Regions from separate parts of the Homo sapiens genome. Here region 2 is linked to region 1. The links are contacts of gene promoters, found by promoter capture Hi-C in blood cells and fetal thymus (Javierre and others, 2016). All regions are on one chromosome and are shown on one strand. The core of a region is centred on a gene start or on the middle of the fragment in contact, and the rest is flanking DNA. Distances in the headings are between cores, read along the strand shown.

What was found. The method cuts DNA at HindIII sites, captures the fragments that hold promoters and counts their contacts. A CHiCAGO score of 5 or more calls a contact.
Region 2: a fragment that was not itself captured here is called in contact with the fragment with the promoter of EPSTI1 in region 1 in 1 of 17 cell types (naive CD4 T cells); the score reaches 5.1 in naive CD4 T cells.

What each region holds. Positions count from the first base shown.
Region 1 is chr13:42,990,727-42,995,424 of GRCh38, forward strand. EPSTI1 (epithelial stromal interaction 1) reads right to left here and starts at 1,515. Exons shown (of 11, transcript NM_033255.5): 1 at 1,252-1,515. The coding sequence starts at 1,439. RefSeq lists enhancers at 1,529-1,648, 1,909-2,148. The HindIII fragment of the contact is 6,494 bases long and covers 1-4,071 here.
Region 2 is chr13:44,273,527-44,278,491 of GRCh38, forward strand. No RefSeq gene overlaps it. Among named protein-coding and RNA genes, the nearest start is that of MIR8079, 80 kb to the left of the region's middle. RefSeq lists an enhancer at 936-1,115. The HindIII fragment of the contact is 5,130 bases long and covers 768-4,965 here.

The DNA of each region.
Region 1 (4,698 bases), core at 265-2,764:
TCCAAAAGCTAAGGGATGAAAGAAAATCTACTGTTTATCGGCCATAAGGTTATATACTGTTTCTTAGCAACCAGGGTTTGTCTTTCAGAGACTAGAAGTCGATGAAAAAGGAGAGACTAAAAATAAAACCATCTGGACAGTTCCAATTCACAGAGGCAGCACTTCAAAGGCAGTGATGTTGTGATAAACCATACTGTTGAGTTAAAGTTCATTCCATTGGCTAGAAAGAGAGGCTCATGACACTTGCTTAATAAATGTTTCCCGGATACTCACTGCAGTCCCTGAACCAAAGACCAGGAATAAAAGCTACCTATCTGTTCCTGCATAGAGCACATATCAACATCAGGGATGAGAGGTACTATGGTCACTCACCTCCTCACTCTCTCAGCTCCACTCCTCTGGTTGTAAGAGGCTAGTTTATCTGCGAGTCTTGCTGGGACGTAGGCTTGCTCCTACCTAGAGGCAGAATTTGAACCTTCTACCCCATATCACATTTCTTGTTGACCCTTACCTGTTAGTGTCTGATACAGTAATTCCGTTTAGGACACCAAGTTTTGTTTTTCTGTTTTGTTTTGTTTTGAGACAGTCTCGCTCTGTTGCCCAGGCTGGAGTGCAATGGCGCAATTTCCGCTCACTGCAACCTCCGCCTCCCGGGTTCAAGCGATTCTCCTACCTCAGCCTCCCAGGTAGCTGGGACTACAGGCACGTGCCATCACACCCAGCTTATTTTTTATTTTTAGTAAAGACTGGGTTTCACCATGTTGGCCAGGCTGGTTTCGAACTCCTGACCTCAGGTGATCTGCCTGCCTTGGCCTCCCAAAGTGCTGGGATAACAGGCTTGAGCCAACGCGCCTGGCCCAGCACCAAATTTTTAAAAACAGTAAGGGAAAAGTTATTTCCATACTGGTTGGAGTATGAGTTCTGGAGATACCTGGAAAATGACATCTTACTGGATGCCTAGGCAGTTCCGACACACCCATATCTTTCAATCCTGTAGCCAGTCACAAAAATCAGGAAAGTAGTATTCCTGGAAGGAACCGGGCTGGTTATTTACCAAAGGACTGCAAACTAGCCGACTCAATTTATAAGGTGCGGCATGGATACTTTCATTTAAGCAAATGAGCTTTCATTCAGTCAAAATCCCTGTTGTTGGGCCCCTGTGGTTTTAAACTCCAAGGACCAAGGTGCTTGTGAGTGAGTATGTTTGGGGCCCGGGCTCCCGCCCCGAAGCCAGGTTGTTAAAATACTCACCGCCTCTGGCCCGCGTGCACGACGCTCTCCCGCGAAGGGCCCTTAGGGGCTGCCTCCAAACCCTCTCTCTGGTCTTCCACGGGGCTCAGCTCCCCTTGCCGCCCAGAAGGGTCCTGGGGATCCCGGGTCGGGCGGGAGGCAGGGGAGGCGCCGAGCCCGGAGTTCACCACTCTATTGCGGGTGTTCATGGTTCACAGCCCGCGGGTCCCGGGCCGCCGTCGCTGCGGGAGGGATGCGGCTGGGACGCTTAGCGAGTCTCAAGATGGGATTCCAAAGTGCAGAGGCAGCGGTTTTAACAGCTGAGTTTCGGTTTCTCAGAATCAGCAGCAGACTGCGCCCGCCCCAGAGAACTTCCCCACGTATTCTCCACTGAGGCCCCGTCCGACCTTATCGCGGGTTAACAGCCCAGGATGTTGACTTGAGCTGGCTTGGTCGGCTACAGGTGAGACGGTTTAAAGTCTCACAATCACCTTAGAGGTTAATCAGAATAACTGGGATCAGCCACGGACACCTGGTGAGCGATTAGCCCGCAGAGTGACTACAATCCTGAAAGATACTTGAGAAACTGTTTAACAGGCAACTCTAATTTGAGGTTACCGCTGGATATTTGAGACTGTAAAAAATATATTAACCTTAAAATACCAGAGATTAGGTCAATAACTAAAATCATCTCAACAAAATGTCGCCTTTTATCAGTAATGACTGCTGTGTGGCTGTTACCAATGCACATACTTTCAAGTTAGAGGAAATGGAAACTGAAATCAAAAGAAAACAAAAACCTACAAAGCCGGAGAAGTAAGCTAAGGTAGACATGATTCTCCAGGCAGCCTTGCTAAGTAATTGACTAGACATTCGAGAACTATTAAAAATACCTGCTCTGTGCAGAACAGTGTGCAACGGTGATGTGGGGACATTTTAAAATATGGATGTGTAAGGCTCAGTTCCTGTAGGTTCAGGGGTGAGCTCTGGCATTCATATTTTTGAAAAGCTCCCAGATGATTCTGATGTGTGCCAGGGTTGGTCACCAGGGTCACAATGCCGTCTACACAAAGATGAGTGAAGGCTCTTCCCTCATGCTACCTGCATTCTAGGAGTATCCTAGTAGACAGGTAAACAAATGGGAATGCCACTTTGGGATAAATGAAATGACAGGCAGCTGTGGAGGCACAGAGAAACTGGGGATTAGCCCTCTGAGTAATTCAGGAACAGGGACATTTGAGAATGAGCCACCAAAGACATAGGAATTCACCAAGAAGAAGGAGATGCTATGGCAGAGGCTTGTCACTTAAAATGACATGGTGTGTACTTAATTCCAGGGGTTGTCATGTGGCTGGAGCACCCCAGTCCTAGGTCAGCAAGACAGTTAGGAGCTGGACTGTCTTCCTTATATTATTGGTGCTTAGAACAAAAAGACACATACAGGTTTGATAGCTAATGAAAGAATGAAATTGAAGGGTGGGCCAGGGTGGGACAGGAGAGGAGAAAATAATGACAAGGAACATGGTAGGAAAGTCAGTCAGGATTTCTATGCCATCCTAAGACATTAGGGTTTTGTAGAGTAGGCCAGAGTTTCACAAATTTCAGTAAGCATCAGAACCACTTGGAGGAGGGTGCGTTAAAACAGATTTATGGCCAGGCACGGTGGCTCACTCCTGTAATTCCAGTACTTTTGGAGGCCGAGGCAGGAGGATTACCTGGAGATCAGGAGTTGAAGACCAGCCTAGCCAACGTGGCGAAACCCCACCTCCACCTGGGCGACAGAGAGAGACTCCATCTCAAAAATATATATATATAGTTTCTGATTCAGGTCTGGGATGGGGCCCAAGGATTTGCATTTCTAACAAATTTCCAGGTGATACCAATGATGCCAGTCTCAGGATCACCCTTTGGGAACCACTGTTGTAGGCAATGTGGAAGGCACAGGAAGTTTTTCAATAGGGCAGTTACTCAATAATATCTGTTTTACAAAGTTAGCTTCTAACAATGTGAAAACGGAGATTGAAAGATGAAGAGACTGAAATCGGGAAGATAAATTCAGAGCCTAGTTACGTCTAGGTAAGAAATACAGATCTGAGCTAAGGCAACCCAGAAAGTGGGGAGCAAAATCAAGACATTTCACATGGGCCAGGCTCAGTTGCTCATGCCTGTAATCCCAGCACTTTTGGAGGCTGAGGCAGGAGGATCACCTGAGGCCAGGAGTTTAAGGCCAGCCTGGGCAGCATGGTAAGACCTCATCTCTACAAAACAAATAAATAAAACATAAAAGACATTTCACATGAGAGATTAGCATAGATAAAAACTAGATGAAAGAGAGAATTGAGTACTGGAAGGCAGCAGAGAGAAGGGGAGATGGCTTTTATAGTGCTTTGAGACCAGCTTTGCCACATACTGGCCACACAACCAAGGCCAAATCTCTTAATTCCTCAGAGATCCAGTTTCCTCCTCTGCCTCATGTGGGTATTGTGAGGAATAGAGATCATCCACATCAGTGGTTCTCAAATGGAGTTGATTTTTCCTCTAGCAGACATCTGGCAATGCCTGGACATATTTTTGATTGTGAAGCCTCAAAGTGGGTAGGTGCTGCTAGCATCTAGTGTGTAAAGGCCGGGGATGCTCCTAAACATCCTACAATGCACAGAATAGGCCCACATGACAAAGAGTTGTCCTGCCCCACGTGTCAACAGTGTTGAAGTTGAAAAATCCTGATCTTCACAGTATGCCTACCTTATAGCCCCAGTAATTTAATGGTTGCTGTCTTTATGGTGACTTTTAGCTTTGTGACTGGATACGAGGTAGAACCATTAACCTAGAGGAGGGACAAGCTTTGAGGGAAGTTCTAAAAGTCTGTTTAGGTGCTGTTGGGTGTAAGGTACCAGCGGGGTGAGAAACGCAGACCTAGAGATCAACAAAAAAGAGGAACAGCAGGGCCTTTCTGGAGGCCATCTTCCACATTGTTCTTTACTAGGAAAATACCCCTGGAACTCTTGTTTCAAAGGAGAAAATTATTTTGGTGGTTGGATGAAATTTAAAGTTTGAGGAAGGGAAAACCCACACTGGGGGAAAACTGATTCTCCTAAAGGAGCTAGTAATAGGGATGTTGGCCTCAAGAATATACTTAGTTAACCATATTTGTTTCACAACACAACCACATGTCACACCAAAGTTTCAAACCTGAGATTTCTCACTCCATTCACTTCTTGTTTTACCTGAGATTTCTCACTCCATTCACTTCTTGTTTTGCCACATTCTCAAAGTGTTTTAAAAAATGTGAATGTGAGGCTGGATGCGGTGGCTCACACCTGTAATCCCAGCACTTTGGGAGGCCGAGGCAGGCGGATCACGAGGTCAGGAGATCGAGACCATCCTGGCTAATACGGTGAAACCCTGTCTCTACTAAAAATACAAAAAATTAGCCGGGCGTGGTGGTGGGCGCCTGTAGTTCCAGCT
Region 2 (4,965 bases), core at 2,083-4,582, 1.3 Mb after region 1:
TATCCTGTGGGCCACTTCTTTTCCTAACCTCTTCCCCGCTCTGTTGTCTGACACTCCAAAGCCACCAGAGCATGTTGTACTTTCCCCAGTGTGGTGCTTCTCCACACTGGATTGTGACTGTCATTTGTGGTCAGCATCTCCCCCAGACTGGTAGGAGGAGGAGAGGGTCGGACTCTTCACAGCAGTATCCCCAACACCTGACTGGTGTCACATGCTTCGTGGCCAGCATTGAATGAATGAGCAAATGTATTAACAAAAAATTGAAGGAATGAAGAGATAAAGCAACTTTTTGCGCTAAATCACTGGTATTCTCAAATGGGTCACATGACACACTGTCCTCTCAAGGGACAGAGACAAAGCTTGCATCTGAAACTCCCCATACCTGCACATTCATTGCTCAGTTAACCTTCACAATAACCAACATGAGGTATTTCTTTTACAACAATAAAAAAGTAAATTGATGACTAGAGATATTGAATAAATTGCCCAGCACCATAAAGCTAGTAAATGGCTGAACCCTGAACTCCAACCCAGCTCCCCTGACTGCAAAACCTGTGCTTTCCCACCACACCGGGCTGGCCAGGGGTTAGGAGCTCACTGATGCCTGATGGCAAACATACTCCTGCTGTCGCTGCTGCTGCTCCCACTCCTGACTTCAGTATTCCAGGCTCACACAGCCAAATCAGCTCTCAGAAGAAGTCAACCCCAGAGTAGATTCTGGGTCACAGCTGTTACAATCAGGAAGTTGGTCTTTAACCCCAGGTAGAAGCTTCACTTCACTAGGGTGGGATCTTTGAACACAGAGCATCCCTTCCATCTGCTGTCCCACACCTGCCTCCCTATGCCTATTCTCATCAACACATATTTAAAACCTTTGAAGGACAACCTCAAGCCACATGCAAAAAACTTCCTAATTATTAGGGAGCGAATTTGCAATATTTTAGTATATATAAGTAAGAGTGAATGAAAGAGACATAGAGGCCGAGGGAGAGGCAGAGAGAGAGGGAAACAGAAAGTGAAAGCAGAGGCAGAGTTATGCATAACAGGTTCTAAAATACACTATTTGGTAGGGGTGTAATGATGACGCACATTGCTAGAGAAAAGAACAAAATGGAGGAAGCTCTCTGGCGTCTATGTGCCTTATAAAATTATTAATTTAACCAATCCCTAAAGTCATGAAGTATTAAGTGACAAGTTGTCTAGCTACAATAGTATGAGTCAACTACTGCATATTCCACTCTATTTTAACATTGAAGCCTAAGATGATTTAGGCTAACAAAGTCATTTTCCAAACAAATCTAAAAATCAAATCTTCATACAAGAAAAGAGGGAGAAGCACCAGACTTTAACCCCAAATGGCAGCCAGTCTTTATGAGATTCTGTTACAGGGTCTGTAAAACTCTGAGCCAGCTGCATGGAAAGGACCCAGGACCACTCACACTGACTGATGTGGTCTTTGAAAATGTGCCAGCAAGGCTTACAGAGAAGGAAACCAGAGCTTTTCAGAACTCAGCTCCTCTGCACAGCGACACAGTGAGATGGACAAGGGCTGCTCTACTGAATTTGCAAATGTGAATTTAACCCACTTATGAAAACAGTACCGGGCATGGCTATATCACTTATCAGCTCATCAAGTTTGTTCTGGAGGGGAAGCAGTTTTGTGTGGCCCCACTATCAGGCACCAGCCTCATAAAGAAGCAAGCAGCACAAATCCTAAATTCTGTGGTGTTTAATGGAGGCCATGTCAACACAACAGCGGGAAAGAGAGGGACTCTCTACCAACCGGTATACTAAGACATAATCTAGAGGCCAAAGGACTCCAGATAAATTACCCATTGCCCAAAACAAAAGGAAGTCTTTTGATAAGAGAAATATTTACACCTGGGGAGTAAGCCATGGTCCCAGGAAGAAAATGTCTTAAAATGAACTTTGCATCTATTTAGTTTTGCATTTTCAGTCCCCAAATACCCCATCACTGTTTTCCTGTTTTCTTTTTCTCTCCCATGAGCTCACTATCCCTTTGCAAATTTAGGGGAAATAGGACTGCTGTTGACTCTGCAGCTGCAAAAAAAAAAAAAAAAAAACTTGCTAAGTGGAAGAAACCATTTAAAAAGGGCCACATACTGTATGATTCCATCTACATGTTACATATTTATAGCTGTCCCTCAGTTCTTGGATTTTCTGGTCTAATTTTTTCCATCTTTTTCTTTCCAGTTTGGAAGTTTCTGTTGAGATATCCTCAAGCAATTCTTTCCTCAGCCTTATCTAGTCTACCAATGAGCCCATCAAAGACATTTGTTATTTCTGTTGAAGTGTTTTTGAAGCATTTTCTCTTGTTTCTTGGAATTCCCATCTCCTGGGTTACATTGCCTTATCTGTTCTTGCTCTCTGTCTACTTATCCAGTAGAGTCAAATATTAATCATATTTGTTTTAAATTCCTGATCTAATAATTCCAACATCTCTGCCACATGTGAGTCTGGTTCTGAGGCTTGCTCTGGCTCTTCAAACTGTGTTTTTTTCAGTTTTAGTATGCCTGGTAATATTTTTTTTTTAACTTAATTTTCTTGATAGCTGGGTATGATATACTGGGTAAAAGGAACTGCTGTAAACAGGCCTTTAATAATGTGGTGGCGAGGTGTGGGGAGGGGAAGTAATCTGTAGTCCTATAATTAGGTCTTAATTTAGTGAGCCTCTGCCTGCGAACTGTGAACTTCACAGGTGTTCTCAGCCCAGCCCCCTTTAGGCGGGACAAGATGGCTACAGTGGGCTGGAGTTGGGTGTTTCCCATCCTCTAAGTCAGTTAGGGTCTGATAAACCCCAATAGTTTATGCTCTGGTAAAACAGTTTCTCCTGAGTGCAGACCTTGTTAAGAACAGAATGTTCTGTTGTATTTTAAAATGGTTCCTTTTCCCAATCTCCTGCTGAATGAATGAGAAGATTTTTCTCTGATAGTCACTGTGAGAACCTGGTTGAGCCCCAGAAGTTAAAACTCACAGAAGTATGCAGAACCCCTATGACCCAGTCGTCCTGGAGTTTTTCACTCTGAGACTTGTCCATACTGAGCCGCCAGCAATTTGTTGGTTATAGTTCCAGTTTTAACTACTTCAGCGCTGTTCCCTGTGGAGGGTTCTTCTCCTGGTTTCAGCTTCTGTAAGTTGTGATTCTCCGTGTCTACCTGTCTGCCTCTACAATTTAGAGGACAGCAGTTTGCCCTGTGATCTCAATTCTCTGATGGATCTAAAGAGTTGTGGATGTTTCCGTTTGTTCAGCTTTTTATTCCTTAGGATGGAGTGGTGACTTCCAAACTCCTTACATGCCTAACCAGAAACTGTAAGTCCCAATTCCATCTCTAAGAAATGTCCAGAATAGGTAAATCCACAGAGACAAAAAAAAATTTGGTTGTTTAGGGCTGGAAGGATAGGAGGTTGAGGGATAATAGCTAAAGGGTACAAGGTTTCTTCTGGAAGTGATAAAAATATAATAAAATTTATTATGATGATGGTTGCCCAACTTTGTGAATATAAATCCATCAAATTGTACACTTTAAATGGGTAAAATGTATGGTATGTGAATTATAATGCTGAACAAAGGAAGGAAGAAAGAAAGGAAAAGACGGAGGGAAAGGAAGAAAGAGAGATGGAAGGGAAGGAAAGAAGGGGAAGGGAAAGAGGGAGGGAAAGGAAGAAAGAGAGAAGGAAGGGAAGGGAAGAAGGGGTAGGGAAGGGGAAGGAAAAGGAAGGGAAGAGGAGGAGAGGCGAGAGGAGGGAAAGGGGAGGGAGGGGAAGGGAGGGTAACGGAAGGGAAGGGGAGAGGAGGGGAAAGGGAGGGGAAGGGAAGGGAGGGGAAGGGATGGAAAGGGAGGAAAGGGAGGAAAGGGGAAGGAAGTGAAGGGGAGAGGAGGGGAAAGGGAGGGGAAGGGAAGGGAGGGGAAGGGAAGGGAGGGGAAGGGAGGGGAAGGGAGGGAAGGGGAGGAAAGGGGAAGGAAGTGAAGGGGAGGGAAGGGGAGGGAAGTGAAGGGGAGGGAAGGGAAAGGGAAGGGAGGGAAGAGGAAAGAAGGGGAGAGGAGGGGAGGGGAGGGGAAAGGAAATGGGGAAGCAAAGCACCATAGCCCAAAGATAGAAGGAGTGGTATACAGTTGTGTCTGCATGGCCTGAAGTCTCTGAGCCTCTTCAGGATCTTCAGCCTCCTTCCCTCTAGTGTGAGATTCCACCACCCTCCCCCTCCCATAACATACACATACACGCACCAAAACCTTTGTTCCAGGCATCTCAAACAATTTGTATTTCCACCCAAACTCTATGCAGTTCCATTCCTCTGAGCTTTTACACAAACTCTTCTCTCTACCTTGAATGCCTACCCTACCCCATTTCCTACCAAGAGAATTCTCACTCAACTTTCAAGACCCAGTTTAAATGTCACACCCTTCAGGATGTCTATCCCTACCTCCTCAGATAGTTAGGGGGCTCCTCCTCGTCACCTGCAGAAGGCTTTACTGTACAGTATGTCACCATATGAGAAGGTAGAACATCTGTCACAATGCACTTAGGCCTATTTAGATGCATATCATCCCCAACAATACCACAGGCTCATGAAGGACAAATGCTGTATTTTATTCATCTTGGTGTTGAAAAAACTTGGAACTGTGGCTGTCGTATAAAAGATATCTAGTAAATATTTGCCAAATGAACAAATAGCAGACAGGCATCATGCCTCTGTGACACAGGTCATGGAAAGTTAACAGAAATTGTTCCTGTTTGCAGAAATATTTGCAAGTAGAAACATCAATGGTTTCACAAAATGTCTGTGTACCCAAGTTTCTGCCCCAAATCGGAAGCCATTTCAACTTGGCTCCTGCACAGGATGTGACTTCCTGCCCAGAGAGCTCCAAAGGCCCCTCGTGCTGCTTGGGCAGGATCCAAATCTCAACAGAGAATGCAACACGAAAGGCAGAGTATATATGTTAC